4 separate regions of the Homo sapiens genome follow, and all the other regions are linked to region 2. Evidence: promoter capture Hi-C in 16 types of primary human blood cells and fetal thymus (Javierre and others, 2016). All regions are on one chromosome and are shown on one strand. Each heading gives the region's core, a stretch centred on a gene start or on the middle of the fragment in contact. The rest is flanking DNA. Distances are from core to core; before and after follow the strand shown. Region 1 has its middle 37 kb from the start of STAM2. Region 2 holds the start of FMNL2 (formin like 2). Region 3 has its middle 77 kb from the start of STAM2. Region 4 has its middle 59 kb from the start of STAM2.

The links. Contacts are between HindIII fragments. The CHiCAGO score rates a contact against its expected background, and 5 or more counts as called.
Region 1: a contact is called between a fragment that was not itself captured here and the fragment with the promoter of FMNL2 in region 2, in 4 of 17 cell types (M2 macrophages, M1 macrophages, M0 macrophages and 1 more). The highest score is 11.3, in M2 macrophages.
Region 3: a contact is called between a fragment that was not itself captured here and the fragment with the promoter of FMNL2 in region 2, in 2 of 17 cell types (M1 macrophages and M0 macrophages). The highest score is 7.4, in M1 macrophages.
Region 4: a contact is called between a fragment that was not itself captured here and the fragment with the promoter of FMNL2 in region 2, in 4 of 17 cell types (M2 macrophages, M0 macrophages, M1 macrophages and 1 more). The highest score is 6.1, in M2 macrophages.

The regions. Positions count from the first base shown.
Region 1 is chr2:152,210,699-152,214,549 of GRCh38, forward strand. No RefSeq gene overlaps it. Among named protein-coding and RNA genes, the nearest start is that of STAM2, 37 kb to the left of the region's middle. The HindIII fragment of the contact is 6,835 bases long and covers 1-3,851 here.
Region 2 is chr2:152,333,757-152,337,521 of GRCh38, forward strand. It overlaps FMNL2 (formin like 2), which reads left to right and starts at 1,418. Exons shown (of 26, transcript NM_052905.4): 1 at 1,418-1,964. The coding sequence starts at 1,848. RefSeq lists silencers at 1,218-1,867, 2,378-2,477. The HindIII fragment of the contact is 3,556 bases long and covers 376-3,765 here.
Region 3 is chr2:152,251,210-152,254,955 of GRCh38, forward strand. No RefSeq gene overlaps it. Among named protein-coding and RNA genes, the nearest start is that of STAM2, 77 kb to the left of the region's middle. The HindIII fragment of the contact is 180 bases long and covers 1,195-1,374 here.
Region 4 is chr2:152,232,786-152,236,666 of GRCh38, forward strand. No RefSeq gene overlaps it. Among named protein-coding and RNA genes, the nearest start is that of STAM2, 59 kb to the left of the region's middle. The HindIII fragment of the contact is 1,134 bases long and covers 795-1,928 here.

The sequences.
Region 1 (3,851 bases), core at 832-3,331, 120 kb before region 2:
AAAATCGCTGCTATAAACATTCAGGTACAAGTTTTTGTGTGGACATATGTTTTTATTTTCATTCATTGTATACCTAGGAGTGGAACTGCTCCATGGTAGCTTTCGAGCCAGGCTGTTTTTCAAAGTAACAGAACAATCACATTCTCACCAGCAGCGTATGAGGGTTCTGATTTCCCTACATCCTCACCAAAACTTGTATTTATCTGTCATTTTGATTGTAACCGTTCTAGTGAGTATGAAGTGGTATGTCATTGTGGTTTTGCCAACTAATGATGTCAAGCATTTTTTCAAATGTTTATTGGTTGTTTGTATATCCTCTTTGGAGAATTGTCTTAAGATCCTTTGTCCATTTTTAAATTGGATTACTTATCTTTTTATTATTTAATTGTAGGAGTACTTTATATATTCTAGATACAAGCCCTTGTCCAATCTTGTCCAATGTATGAATTGTTAGTATTTTCTCCCATTCCGTGAGTTGTCTTTGCACTTTTTCTTGAGACAGGGTCTTACTGTCACCCAGGCTGGAGTTCAGTGGCACAATCACAGCTGACTGCAGCCTTGACCTCCTGGGCTCAAGTGATCCTCCCACCTTAGCCTCCCAAGCATCTGGGACTACAGGCACACACCACCAAGCCCAACTAATTTTTTTTTTTTTTTTAGAGCTGGGATCTCACTATGCTGCCTGGGCTGGTCTTGAACTCCTGGGCTCAAACGATCCTCCTGCCATGGTCTCCAAAAGTGCTAGGATTACAGGTATGAATCATTGCCCTTGGCTCACTTTCTTGACAGTATCCTTTGACACACCAATGTATTTAATTTTGACAAACCTCAATTTATCTATTTTTGTTATTTTTCTTGCTCATGCCTTTAGTGTCGTATCTAAGAAAATGTTGCAGAATCCAAGGTCATGAAGATTTACTCCTATCTTCTCCTCTAAGATTAGGAGATTTTAGCTCTTAGGCCAGGCCTGGTGGCTTATGCCTTATAATCCCAGCACTTTGGGAGGCCGAGGTGGGCGGATCACCTGAGGTCGGGAGTTAGACCAGCCTGACCAACATGGTGAAATGCCATCTCTACTAAAAATACAAAATTAGCTGGGTGTGGTAGCACATGCCTGTAATCCCAGCTACTTGGGAGGCTGAGGCAGGAGAATTGCTTGAACCCAGGAGGCGGAGGTTGTGGTGAGCGGAGATCGTGCCATTGCACTCCAGCCTGGGCAACAAGAGCAAAACTCCGTCTCAAAAACAGAGAAGATTTTAGCTCTTACATTTTATAATTTTGACATTAATGTTTAGGTGTTTGATCCATTTTTAGTTAAGTTTTGTATAGTATGAGGTAGGAGTCGAAAATAATTCTTTTGCCTGTGGCTATACAGTTGTCCCATTGTTGTTTGTTGAAAAGACTATTTTTCTCCATTAAATTGTTTTGGGATCCTTGCAGGCAGGTAATAACTGTAAATGAGAGGGTTTAGAGTAAATTCTCAGTTCTATTCCATTGATCTCTATGTCTGTCCTTATGCCAGCATCACATTTTTTGGGGGGGGTCTTACTCTGTCACCCAGGCTGGAGTGCAGTGGTGTAATCTCAGCTCACTGCAACCTCCATCTCCTGGGTTCAAGCAATTCTCCCACCTCAGCCTCCTGAGTAGCTAGGACTACAGGTGCATACCACCATGACCACCTAATTTTTGTATTTTTTGGTAGAGGTGGGTTTCACCATGTTGGCCAGGCTGGTCACAAACTCCTGACCTCAAGTGATCCACCCCCCTCAGACTCCCAAAGTGTTAGGGTTACAGGAGTGAGCTACCATGCCTGGCCGCACGTTGTCTTGATTACTGTTGCTTTGTAGTAAGTTTTGAAATTGGGAAGTCCCCCAACTTTGTTCTTCTTAAAAGATTGTTCCAGCTATTCTGGGTCCCTTGAGTTTCCATATAAATTTTAGGGTCAGTTTGTTAATTTCCACAAAGATGCCAGCTGGATGCTGAGAGTAATTGCATTAAATCTGTAGATCGGTTTGGAGATTATTGCCATTTTTCTTAGTCCTGTTTAGTGTTGCTGTCACTGAATGCTGGGTAACTTGAAAAGAGATTTATTTGGCTTATGATTCTGGTGGATGAAAAGTTCAAGATTTGGCAACTGCATCTGGTGAGGGCCTCATGCTGCTTCAACTCATGGTAGGAAACAGAAGGGGCATAGGTATGTGCAAAGAGATCATGTGGCAAGAGACGAAGCAAAAGATAAATGGAGGAAGCCAGACTCTTTTTAACAACCTGCTTTCCTAGGAACCATTCCACTCCTGGGAGAGTGAGAATTCACTCATTCTTATGAGAGGGCATTAATCTATTCATGAGGGATCTTCCCCTGTGACCCAAACACCTCCACTAGGTCCTGCCTGCCAACACTGCACACTGGAAATCAAATTTAAACTTGAGTTTTGTCAGGATTGCCACATCCAAACCATAGCACCATCTTAACAATATTAAATCTCCTGATCCGTGAATATGGGTTGTTTTTCCACTCACTTAAATCTTCTTTAATTAATTTCAACAGTTTTGTAGGTTTCAGAATTTAAGTTTTTCACTTCTTTCATTAAATTCATTCCTAAGTATGTTATTATTTTCAATGCTATTATGATGGGATTGTTTTCTTAATTTCATTTTCAGATTGCTTACTGCAAGTTAGAAGAAATACAATTGATTTTTGCATATCGATCTTACATCCTGCAAACTTGCTGAACTCATTTATTAGGTCCAATAGTTTTTTAGTGAAAATTTTAGGACTTTCTATATACAATATCTTGTTATCTGAGAATAGATTTAGTTTTACTTCTTTTCCAATCTGCCCCGGCTAGAATCTCTAGTACAATGTTGAATAAAAGTGGCAAGAGTGGATATCCTTGCCTTGTTGCTAATCTTATGGTAAAATCATCTAGTCTTTTACCATTAAATACAATGCTAGCTGTGGATATTTCTTTTGTTTTTTTTTTTTTTTTTTGAGGCGGGGTCTTGCTCTGTGGCCCAGGTTGGAGTGCAGTGGCACCATCTTGGCTCACTGCAACCTCCGCCTCCCAGTTTCAAGCTATTCTTATGTCTCAGCCTCCCAAGTAGCTGGGATTACAGGGTGGGGGCCACCACATCTGGCTAATTTTTTTGTATTTTTCATAGAGACGGGGTTTCGCTGTGTTGTCCAGGATGGTCTTGAACTCCTGACCTCATGTGATCCACCTGCCTCCACCTCCTAAAGTGCTGGGATTACAGGCATGAGCCATTGTCCTCAGCCAGCTGTGGATTTTTCACTGATGCCCTTTGTGAGGTTAAGGAAGTTCCCTTCGGCTTGGTGCAGTGGCTCACACCTGTAATCCAAGCACTTTGGGAGGCCAAGATAAAAAGATTGCATGAGCCCAGGAGTTTGAGACCAACCTGGGCAACAAAGTGAGACCTTGTCTCTACAAATAATACAAAAGTTATCTGGGCATGGTGGCATGTGCCTATGGTCCCAGTTACTCAGGAGGCTGAGGCAGGAGGATTGCTTGAGCCCAAGCAGTCAAGGCTGCAGTGAGTTATGATTGTGCCACTGCACTCCAGCTTGGGTGACACAGTGAGACCCCATCTCAAAAAAAAAAAAAAAAAAAAAGGTTTTCTTCTATTCCCAGTTTATTAGGTTGTTTTTTTAAAATCATGAAATGGTGTTGAATTTGATAAATATTATTTCTGTATTTATTGAGATGACAATTTTTTCCTCTTTATTCTATTTATATGATATATTACATTGGCTAATTTTCATATGTTGAACCAACCTTGTATTCCTGGGATAAATTCCACTTGGTCATGGTATATAATCCTTTTTATATGCT
Region 2 (3,765 bases), core at 168-2,667:
GTTGAATTTATTTATACTGTCTCCATTCTTTAAAGACTAGAAGTGGTTTAATAGAACATACATGATGTATTTGTGTGTATTTGTGTCATATGCTTTTGGAAAAAGTCACTTGTCAATTCCACAAATAGTTCTTGGGCGTCTACTATGTTTAAAGTATCTTGAAGTTTATAAAGATGAATGAAATGTCCTTGATTGAATCTTGGTGTACTACCTTGTCCAGAAACACTTGCTATTTACTAAAAGGATAACAACCTTACCTGCATATCAAAATCACCTGGGGAGCTTGTTGAAAATACACCGGCCCAGGCTTCGGCTCTCAGCTTAGGGAGATTCTGATAATACGCAGAGCCCAAGGTGTGTGTAGTTTTAACAAAAAGCTTCCCAAGCGAATCTGATACACATCTAGGATTAAGAAACACTGCTTTAAACTAAGAAAGGACTAACTGCAGAAGTTCAGCCACAAGTCAACCAGATGTATGCCCTTAACATTCACATGAGCAGTTGGCTAAAGTCTCTTATAAGGCTATTTCTATTTCCGAGGTTTCAGAACGGGTAGTTATAGTCTGAAATACACCCCAGAGGACAGAGTCAGGTCCAATCTTTTCTGTAAGACACCTTGCTCAAGACTGCTGTGAAGGAATAAGAGAGCTGCAGCCAAAGATCATCCCAAAGTCTCCCAGAACACTCTATCATTATATCCATCTCACATGAAATATGGGTGTGTACATTTTTTCCTTCACTAGATTGGCAAGTATTCCAGCGCAGGGCAAATCTCTTTTTTCTCCCACCAAGGAACACAATATCCCATACATAATAGGTGTTTGACAGGTTTTTTTTTTAAATTGAATTGAATCCTTACCTAGCTCCTAGGGTCTGACTATATATACCCATAAATTATACATCTGTTTATAAAACATTTCAATCACACCAAAGAACATATATATGGAAGAAAGAACGATAAACAAGCACCCATGGACCCACCCCCCCGTTTATGAAACAGAACTTTGCCAGTGCTTTCGAAGTTCCTTACTGAACTAGATCTTTTAAAAACAGCAACGATTTTCTGAATTTTAATCAGAAGGCATGCATTCCTTCATTCATTGATTCGATTCCGTCATGGTCAGACCCGCCTACCAAGTGTCAACATGATATACACGATGTAAGTATTCCACTGTTGGGGTGAGGAGGGTCAAAAGTGACAATATGCTATCTCCAGAGACTACGGATCGCCTTTGCTGCAAATGGTCCCAACCCGGCCTGGCGCTCTAGAGCAGGCGTGGTTTCTGCGCGCGGACACTTTGGAGAGAAACTACGCGTCCCGGCAGTCCGCGGGGCGAGTGGGCGGAGCCGGGCCGGGGGCGGGGGCCGGGCGCCGGGCGAGAGGTGGCATTGTGTAGGGGAGCGCGGAGCTGCATTTGTCTGCTCCAGGTGCTAGCCAGGCAGGCGCAGCCGTGGCCGGCTAGGGCTGGAAGTGTCAGCGGCGGCCGCGGGCCCGGCAGAAGGCCGAGTAGGAGGGACCACGCGCCGGGGGCCGCGATCTCTGGCAGGGGGCGGTGTGCCAGCGGAGCACCATGCACATAGGCGCCCAGCGCCCCAACTACCCCTCCCGAGGAAAAGAGGCCGGGGCCGCGCTGGGGCGGCGGAGAGCATGAGGGAGGCCGGGGGGCGGCTCGGCTTGGAGCGCTGCTAGGGAGCGGTGCGCGCCGCACACCCGCCTGGGCGCGGCGGAGGGCGGGGAGCCGGGCAGGTCGCGCCTGCGGGCGGCAGCCGACCGCCGGGAGCTGTTCTGATTTCCGACGCGCACGCTAGGGGCCCGGAGCAGCCCCCGGCCCCGGCGCGCCGCCGACATGGGCAACGCAGGGAGCATGGATTCGCAGCAGACCGATTTCAGGGCGCACAACGTGCCTTTGAAGCTGCCGATGCCAGAGCCAGGTGAACTGGAGGAGCGATTTGCCATCGTGCTGGTAAGTGCGCGGCGGCGGTCGGGCGCGGGGACCCGGGGCCCCGGGCCGGGCGGCGCAGCTGACCCCCGCCCCTCCCCTTCACCCCGTGCCGGGAGCGAGCCTCCATTCCCGAGGGGGAGGCTCCCGCTTTCCCCTTTGTGGCCCCCCAGCACTCCTCTTCACCCCCCTGGCAGTCCCCCGCGCTCAGTCTCTCGGGGTCCCGGGATGGGGATGGGGGCTCAGGGCCGGCTGCCCAACCAGCCTCGAACCCATTGTCTGGCTGGAGAGGCACCTCACGGCGCGTGTGCCCGGGAGGTGCGGCGTGGGCGTGAAGAGAAGGTGGCGCGGGCTGGGAGGAGGAGGTGGCGAGCCGCTTAGGCTTTTTTTTTAAAAAAAACAAAACAAAACAAAACAAAACAAAACACCCTGAGCCCCTGCGGACCATCCCTCGGGCGGCCAGCCCGGGACCTGCGAAGTCCCCGGCAGATGGGGCGCATGTGGCCGGCCGCGGGCGCCGCGCCGGGCGGTGAGCGGAGGCGAACTTGGAGGGCTCACGTCGCGGCTTGGCCAAGGGGAGCTTCCCCGAAAGGGAAAGCGGAGACCCACAGCAGTGCGGCGCCCCGGCCCTTGGCGAGGAGCAGGGGCATCTGAAACCCAGGCCGGGGAGAACCTCAGCGCGTTCCCTCTAGACTTAAATCTTAAACCACAAAAATGTGGAGTTTTGCGGGGACGTGTTGCGAGCTGTCCTGACTGCACGGGCGACCCCTCCCCTCCTCTTGCACGCCCAGCCAGGTCCCCCGCTCCCTCCTGCATTCCGCTTCTCCCAGCTTTCCAGCTCCTCAAATCCAGGACTCTGAAAACTCCCCTCTTTCTCCCTTTCCTGCTGGGACAGTGTCTGGGCCCCTCCCAGCCGAGGCTTGTGCTGTGAGCTGCAGAGGGTGTGGCGGCTTGCCCCAGCCAGGATCTGGACTGCTGTTGGTCCCCCAGACTACCAGTTTTAGTGTCCCAGCCTCTTCTAAGGGATGTTGGGAGGGACACACACAGGCGAGATTGGGCTCATTCCTACTCCTGACACTTGGACACTTCTCTTTTCCTAGTTGGTTACCTCTAAACTCCACAAGACTAGGCAGCAAGGGAAACTCGTGATCCGGGCAGCCAACGATTGTGCCTGCCTGCGGGTTTTCTTTTCTTCTTTTGTTTTCATGAAAACTTAGAACTTTGGCAGAGGACTCGAGTTCTAGATCAAAAATCGGTTTTCTGAGGTGTGCTCAGCTACAGGACGTTCAAATTGCCTGCCTTCAGGCCTTGAAAAAGGAATGGTTTGGTATGGGAAGTGATGTTCTGGATGGCAGGTTAGCTGTGTGCTCTTTGGGAGAACTGAGCTCTCTCTCCCGCCACCTGGAAACTCTGGTGTGGCCGTCGGGGAGACAGATGAGGTTGCTTGTGTTGCTTTGCATCTCCTGTGATCTCCCACAGCTGCTCCCACCGTTGTGCAAGATGGGACACTGAAATGAAACGGCCTAGGCATAACTCTCAAGGCGGCCTGGGTGCATACTTGACCTGCTTTTCCAGAGACAAACGTTTTTCTTCAAAACCCTCTTCCTACTAGACATATGGTTCTTACCTCCTGGCTCTGGCTTTTTTTCCTCCTGGCTCTGGCTTTTTTGTTTTTCCATCCATGCTGTGGTGCTCTGTGTGTGTGTGTGTGTGTGTGTGTGTGTGTGTCTGAATACTTGTGGTGGAGGAGCCAGTGACACAGGGAAACCAGTGCAGCAGCCATAATAATAACAATAATGCAATTAAGTTCTGCTTGACTAGGATA
Region 3 (3,746 bases), core at 35-2,534, 83 kb before region 2:
TCGCATGCCAGGCTTGCTTAACTAGTCTGCCTCCTTTCCATATCTGAAAAATGGTGACAACAACACTGAAACTTTCAAACTACTCCTCCCAAAGATCAGGCAAGGAATTCTTAGCACATGTTTTAAAACAACTTCAATTCCTCAAGAGATGCAACTGTGTTCTTTATCGTATTTTCCTATGCTGCACTTCTATTCATCCCCTAGCTTGCAGCCAAGAAAAAGAACTGTTATTAAACACTTGAACATATGGCATATATCACTTTTTGGAAAATAAACTTATTCAAGAAAGAGCTTTGGAGGCCACATGTGGGCATCTCAAGATAGTGATCCAAAAGGAAGTCAGAAGCCTCAAATGAACGAAATAAGTGTTTTAGTCCAAAGACAATGATTTGGTTCTCTAGGCTTGTTTTAGTCACCTGTTTGGTACCGGGACGGAGGTCACTCTTCCAGTTGTTCACTGCAGCATCTTGCAAAGAAAAGCGTTAACAAAGAAAAGTGAGGCAAAGAGAAACAGTCAGCAGGACTCAACCGGCAACTGTGTGTGACCAGAAATGTGGGACATGAAGCAGCTTTTCTTACAGCTGTGCATGTCACATTGTCTCTTTAAACCTAAAAACTTGGAATTTCAGGAGACTTCTTTCTGTTCTTTATTCTTTTTTCCTTTCAAATGACAGATTTCTCCTTTCCTTTGTCCCTTATGATTTCCAGTCCCCACTGTGTGTCTGCCCCGCCCTTGGTTTGAGGATGTGGTGCTGTGATCCAGCCATGTGGCAGAACCACACGGTTGCTACTAAACTGCCACTCACTCCCCAGGGGAAAAGACTTAGCTATAATCCTGTAATCTTTTCTTCAAACAATGACTCCATTTCACTTGAAGTAGACAAAAATGAATGGCTTTTGTCATTTGGAATCTGAGCACATATGGATGATTTTTAAGTTAAAAAAAAAACTAACTGTAAAGATGGCAACAGTATTTTTCTGTGTTGAGGACAAATGTGATCTCATTATACTAAAAACATGTTGGAATGCTCTACTTACTCTTATTTCCTTATCCTGATGAAGCTGCAAAGAAGACTGAGCTTACTCTTGCCTCACGTTCATCAGATAAGGTAGATATTATAGGAGCTGGGATATAGGTGGAGTAGCTCTAGCCATATAGCATTTTTTAAGATCTGACAAAAAGAAGGAAGCTAAAGCTTCAGTATATGGCTGTATAAGATGATTGGCAATTCATTTTTCATTATCATAAAAAGAATACGTTTAGTAAATAAATTTAGATTCCTTTAAAAGACAGCCTGTCTAAACTTTCTTCTGTAAACTACAAGCCCAATAGCACAAACCTAGGGAAACTCACCCTGCCCTGGATAAAAGAGAAGCTTCATGGCTCAACTTTTTACTTGAATTTCACACTTATAAAGTGACCTGTCAAAGGTATAAATTGACTTTATACCTCCAGTGAGATCTTTGGTCTTTTAAGAAAAAGAAAAGGATCACCTGGTTTCTTTCCTCCATAAGTTCTTAGATAGCCAATTACCAAACCTAACAGACACTACTTCCTAAGCAATTGTAGTGTTTGTTTCCTCTTTTACCTCCCCATCTGTTCAAAGTCCTATAATTTCTCACCTGAATGACTGCAAAAGTTACCTAACTAATTTCCTTAACCAAATCTTCCGCCCTGCCATAAGATGCTTAAATTTTATCAGTGTCTCCAAGGTGCCTCCAGTGCACTGCAGAACTCAGTCTTTTGAATCTGTCCCTGCTAATCCCTCCTGCCTCAACTCTGTCACTTTTCCCATTTGATGCTCCAAGATGCCAAATCACTTGGGGATTCTCTTACTGTCCCGTGTAGGTCTTTCTTTCATTTGAACCTTTGCATATGCTGTTACCTCCTCCAGTAACCCACTCTGCCAATTCGTAGCTGGTTAAATAACTGCTCCTGGAATTTCGAAACTTAGCTCAGATACCAGACATCTTTTGTGACTTCCCATCTGCATCCAAGCAAGGAACATTTGCCTATTTGCCCCCTATGCTGTCCTCCATCATAGCACTAATATTATTATCTTTTACTTGTTTGTCTTACCTATACACCTGGGAAGAGTTGGGCCTTTCATTTCCACATTTCCATCACCTACCATGGTTCTCAACTTATAGTTGGTGCCCAAATGTTGAATGAATTAATGAACAATGTAGAATGTGGAGAACTGATTGTGGTTATATAAAGTTTAAGCATTTGGGGGGCTTTCTTTTCTTTTCTTTCTGTAGTGATGCGATCTTGGCTCACTGCAACTTCCACCTCCCAGGTTCAAGCAATTCTCGTGCCTCAGCCACCCAAATAGCTGGGATTGCATGCGTGCGCCACCACGCCTAGGTAATTTTTGTATTTGTAGTAGAAATGGGGTTTCACCATGTTGGCCAGGCTGGTCTTGAACTCCTGACCACAAGTGATCCATGCAACTTGGCCTGCCAAAGTGCTGGGATTACAGGTGTGGGCCACAGCACTTGGCAGGAGTTTGATTTTCAATTGACAATGGCTCTGACCAACTCTAGGTCCTTGTGTGAATTTATTGAGTTGGACATTTTTGGTTAGGTTGTTAGAAACTTTGAAATATATATTGAATCTCTGTTCCAGTTAACTGTAACAGCACTAAATTCTTCAACACAGAACACTGTAAGGCAAACACATAAATTCACCATAGGGAGCCAATAAAAGGTGTTAGAAACAGGAGGAAAGTTACTGATAAAATGTGACAAGGTTTTCAAACAGAGGCAATATTGTTAATTTAAATTGCAGAGACCTTATTCACACTCACCAAAATACAAAGGAAAAAGATTGCAACTCATTTTGGAATATTTGGAAGATGAAACAGTCCTTGAACTCCCTGTACCTGAGTCAGAGTACATAGTCTAGCAACACTTATCAAAATTTATGCTCTACCACTAAGGAAATTGAACTTTATATCCTAGTAAGGCTGGTTTCCTTAGTCTTTTCTAAATTCATTATTTTTAGTACAGATTCCACATCCTTACTCATGTATCCTCTGATTTAGAATATTCTATGTCCTATCTTTAGTCTAATCAACTTTAGTTCTTCTATGTTCTTTATTCTCAGCCTAAATCCTGCCTTCAAAGAAGCCTCCCCTAACTACCTGGCCCATATGAACTGTGCCTTTTCTGATTTTCTACCACACACACATAGACGCTACTCACATGGCTCCTCTTGTACCCTGACTCCAACACTCCTTTATGCCTGTTGCGGTCTACAATCGAATGACAACTTTTCATTGTCCTCACATCTCTCATCTTCCCTCTGTACCTGGTGTAAGTGACCTCCATGGTTGATCATTAGAATCATTCCTTTGACTATATTTTCAACTCTTGCTTATAATACGTGCTTAACAAAACCCTGATCCAAGCAGTTTCAACTTTCTGCCTATGGTGCAACCGCCTTTACATAGCTGAGCATGACTGACTGAAAGAAAATGTCACCATGACACCTGGTCTCATTTTGAATACATGATCACTAGCCTCGAGTGGGTTCTGCTTGACAATCTTTTCTTAGGTCCCTATTCCATTCACTCTTCCATTCTCCTAGACATCTATATCATGTTGTCTTGTGATTGTTTATTGGCTTGATCCCCAGTTATTTGAGAGTTTTTGCAAGTTATAAATGACTTGTGGGCAGGAGCCCATTGGCCCATGCCCCTGTTATATCCTTAATAACGCTAAGCACATGAGTGGTGCCCATG
Region 4 (3,881 bases), core at 112-2,611, 100 kb before region 2:
ACTCTTATCTACTCTAATAGAGTTTCCATCTATAGCCAGATTGACTTTCCCACCTTACTTTCTGCTTTTCAGCCACACCAGCTTTCTTTCAATTCCTCCAATGTTCTCCCATGCTCCCTCCATCTGCAGAACATCATTGTTTACTTCAAGGTTCAAGTAATATCAATGAAAATACAGGCAAGGCTTCTGTTCTGAATGGTGCTTACTTCTAGTGGAGCAGGAGAAGACATACAAAAGACAAACACAAAAATAAATATGCAAGACAAGTATCAGATAGTGATCACTGTAAATTACTATGCTGAGAATATATTGAAGCTGATATAAGAGAAAATGATTGGCTGGGCGCGGTGGCTCACGCCTGTAATCCCAGCACTTTGGGAGGCCAATGCTGGCGGATCACGAGGTCAGGAGATTGAGACCATCCTGGCTAACACGGTGAAACCCTGTCTCTACTAAAAATACAAAAAATTAGCCGGGCGTGGTGGCAGGCGCCGGTAATCCCAGCTACTTGGGAGGCTGAGGCAGGAGAATGGTGTGAACCCGGGAGGCGGAGCTTGCAGTGAGCCGAGATCGCGCCACTGCACTCAAGCCTGGGCGACAGAGTGAGACTATGTCTCAAAAAAAAAAAAAAAAAAAAAGGAAAATGATTAACTGGCTCCTTATTAAGTTGGCAGAGGTGGGATTTCTTATAATTTGTTATAATACCTTATGAAAAAGTAGCCAGCCATGCAGAGATGATGGGGAAGAGCATTCAGACAAAGGGAACAGAAAATGCAGACTCTCATATGGGAATAAGCTTGGCTTGCTGGACCTGTGTAATAGGTGGATGTGGTGAGATCGAGGAAATGCTTCTATATGCTGTTCTTTCTGTCTGGAATGTATGTTTCCCCTCCTTTACACCCACTTTACTCCTACACTTTTCCCTTTTGCTCTGCTTATTCCTACTCATTCTTTGATCGCACTTCCACAGGGAATTCTTTCCTGACTCTGCAGACTTGATCAGTCCCCTCATGTGCATGTATTATGCATTTTCCTTCATAAAATACATCACAATTGTAGTTTAGTAACATCAGTCTCTTTGGTGATTTGATTCATTTTTCTATCTCCTTCATGAAAACTTGCTCCATGAGGGTCTGGACCAATCTCCTTGCTCAATATGGTTTTTCTGGTTTTTAACTTGATAAGTATTTGTTAAAGTGGGATTGTTAGGTCAAAGGTATGTGCCTTTTAAATTTCAATAGATATTGCCAAATTACTTTCTCCCAAATGTGTACTGCTTTACATTTCCATTAATCATTTATGAAAACACTCATTTCCTCTCATTCCCACCAGTCCTGTACATTGGCATTCTGTTTGATTTCACCACTTTAGTAAATCATCATTTGCATTTTTTCTTCTTGAGCACCTACATTTTGGAAAAATTTAATTATATTAGCTCAGGTTCATACCAGACATTTTAGGCCTAAATTAAATGTGTTCATTTGGGGAATGCTTTCCTCCTATCTAACTCTCCAGTTTGCATGTGACATACTGAATACTCCTTGTTTGGAAATTTCTGTACTGTAAACTATATGCTACTTTGGCAGTCATGCTCTATACAGCTAGGAGAGGTTAGGTGCCAGTGAAAGACAGGTGGGTTCTGGGCATCCAAATGAGAAGGATGCAATAAATTAAAAGGAGAATCAGAGAAAGGGATGAGTCAGAGTTAGGAATGAGCAGAGTCTTGTAAGACTGGAGCCAAGGTAGGATCTGATGGTATAAAAGATCTTGAGCAAAGTGTTCTGGAGATCTTGATAGCACCTTAAGAACTTTGTAGGGCCCTTATTTCTTCAGTGCCTAGGAGAATGTAGAGCACAGACATAAGATGGAATTAGAAAGAGAAAGTAGATTTGTTGGGCAGTAAGACAATATAGAACCCAGATCTGAAAAGCTTGGATTGAGGAAATTGGGCAAGTAAATCTAATACCAAGGACCACTAAGATCTTGCCCATTTGGACAAACTTGGACCTAGATATTCATAAATGTACCCTAGTAGATCCTCAGTCTTGAATAAGGTGGTGTTCTTGCAAAGAAATAGTACATTCTCTTTTAAGAAGGGACCTGGGAGGCATTGGGGGAAGGGTTCTGTTTTTAGCATCTTAGCCCATGAGTACAAAGCCATAGGGCCGTGGGTGGTGACGGTAGGAGATGTCAGCAAAGGTAGTCATTGCTGGGGACTTGGGCATAAGGCATGCACAATCATGGTTGTACTTATGGTCATAAGAAATAGAGATCTCAGATGCTGGAAAAGGAACCCAGAGCTGCAACAGTAGTAATTGAGTCTCTAGAACCCTAGGCTGGTAATGAACTTAATAATATTAAGTCCTAACAGACTGGGGGCAGGGAAGAAGTAGAGGGGGGCAGGATTTTTTTTTTTTAATTTGCTTAAGAACCGAGACAAGGCCTAAGCAAATTGTGGACCAATCTACAGAAAGCTGAGGGATGAAGGCAGAGAGAAATGAGGTGGAGTCTAACAATGGCCAAGCCTGGAGATTCATCATAGTCTGCCCCAATGTTTTCTATCACCTCAGCCTTCACTATGGGCTGGAGCAATTTTATAATTAATTTTTGCAGGATGTAACAGTTTCTTGTGCTGAGCTATGTATATGAAGAAATGATCTCCTTAGGAACATTCAGTCCTAGAATTCTGAAATGGGGTGAATGCTGAAAAGGGATAAAATGGGGCCCTCGAGTACTGAGGGTGTATGAAGTTTGGTTAGTCCTTTCATTTCCCCATTGTCTGGTGAATATTTCAGTGTACAGTTTCTAGTGCATTGTCCAGGCTGGTTTTCAATGCTTCATTTAATATGGATTTATTTTCCCTGGCAGAAGATACCTTACTATTAAATAAGTCTCACTACTAGGAAGTCAGATAGGCTCCCTACATTTTCCCATTTTGTTTCACCTCATTACTTGTAACTCATAATAGTAAATAATTCCTCTCCCAGCATGGTACTTTGAAATAAGCACTATCGTATTTTGACAAAGCTCGGTAAGATTTTCTATTGTGTTCCAGTCCCATATTTTACGTACAATCTCTCCTGATTCCAATTATTACAACCAATTTGAGTCAGCATAACATACTTCAGCCCTCACTATCTGTTCTACCTAGATGAATGTTTGTAAATGTCTCACCTTTAGAATATAATAAAAAGCCCTTTGAATATCTTTGGAATTATTGGTGTTGTAAATGAGGAAAAACATCTGTTTAACATGTTTTTATGCATGTTCAGAAATGGGAGAGTTCTAGTGAATTTTGACTCTTTAAAAAAATGCCAACAGCAATAACAACAATAAAAAATTTTTAAACATGCTCCCAGAAAATTAATTGGCCTGGCTGTCTTTTTTTTTTTTTTTTTTTTTTTTTTTTGGAGTGCAGTGGTACAATCTCAGCTCACTGCAGGGTTCAAGTGATTCTTGTGCCTCGGCCTTCTGAGTAGTTGGCACTACAGGCATGTACCACCATGCCCTGCTAATTTTTATATTTTTAGTAGAGACACAGTTTCACCATCTTGTCCATGCTGGTCTCAAATTCCTGACCTCAAGTGATCTGCCCGCCTCGGCCTCCCAGAGTGCTTGGATTATAGGCGTGAGCCACCACACCTGGCCAGCTGTCCTGCTTTTGCTGATGAAGACAAATATAATCTTCCTATTAGGCTTTCTATTCAAATTGAGCCAGTGTAATTTTCAGTGTATCTTAGTAGCAGCAAGAATATTTCACATATAGCTAATTTTTAAAGAGGGAATTGATAAATAATATTTTCCTACAAGAAAAAAAATCAGATCTCTAAATATGAGAACTCATTGTCAGGGCAAAAAAGCTAGCCAATTGCTGAACAAAA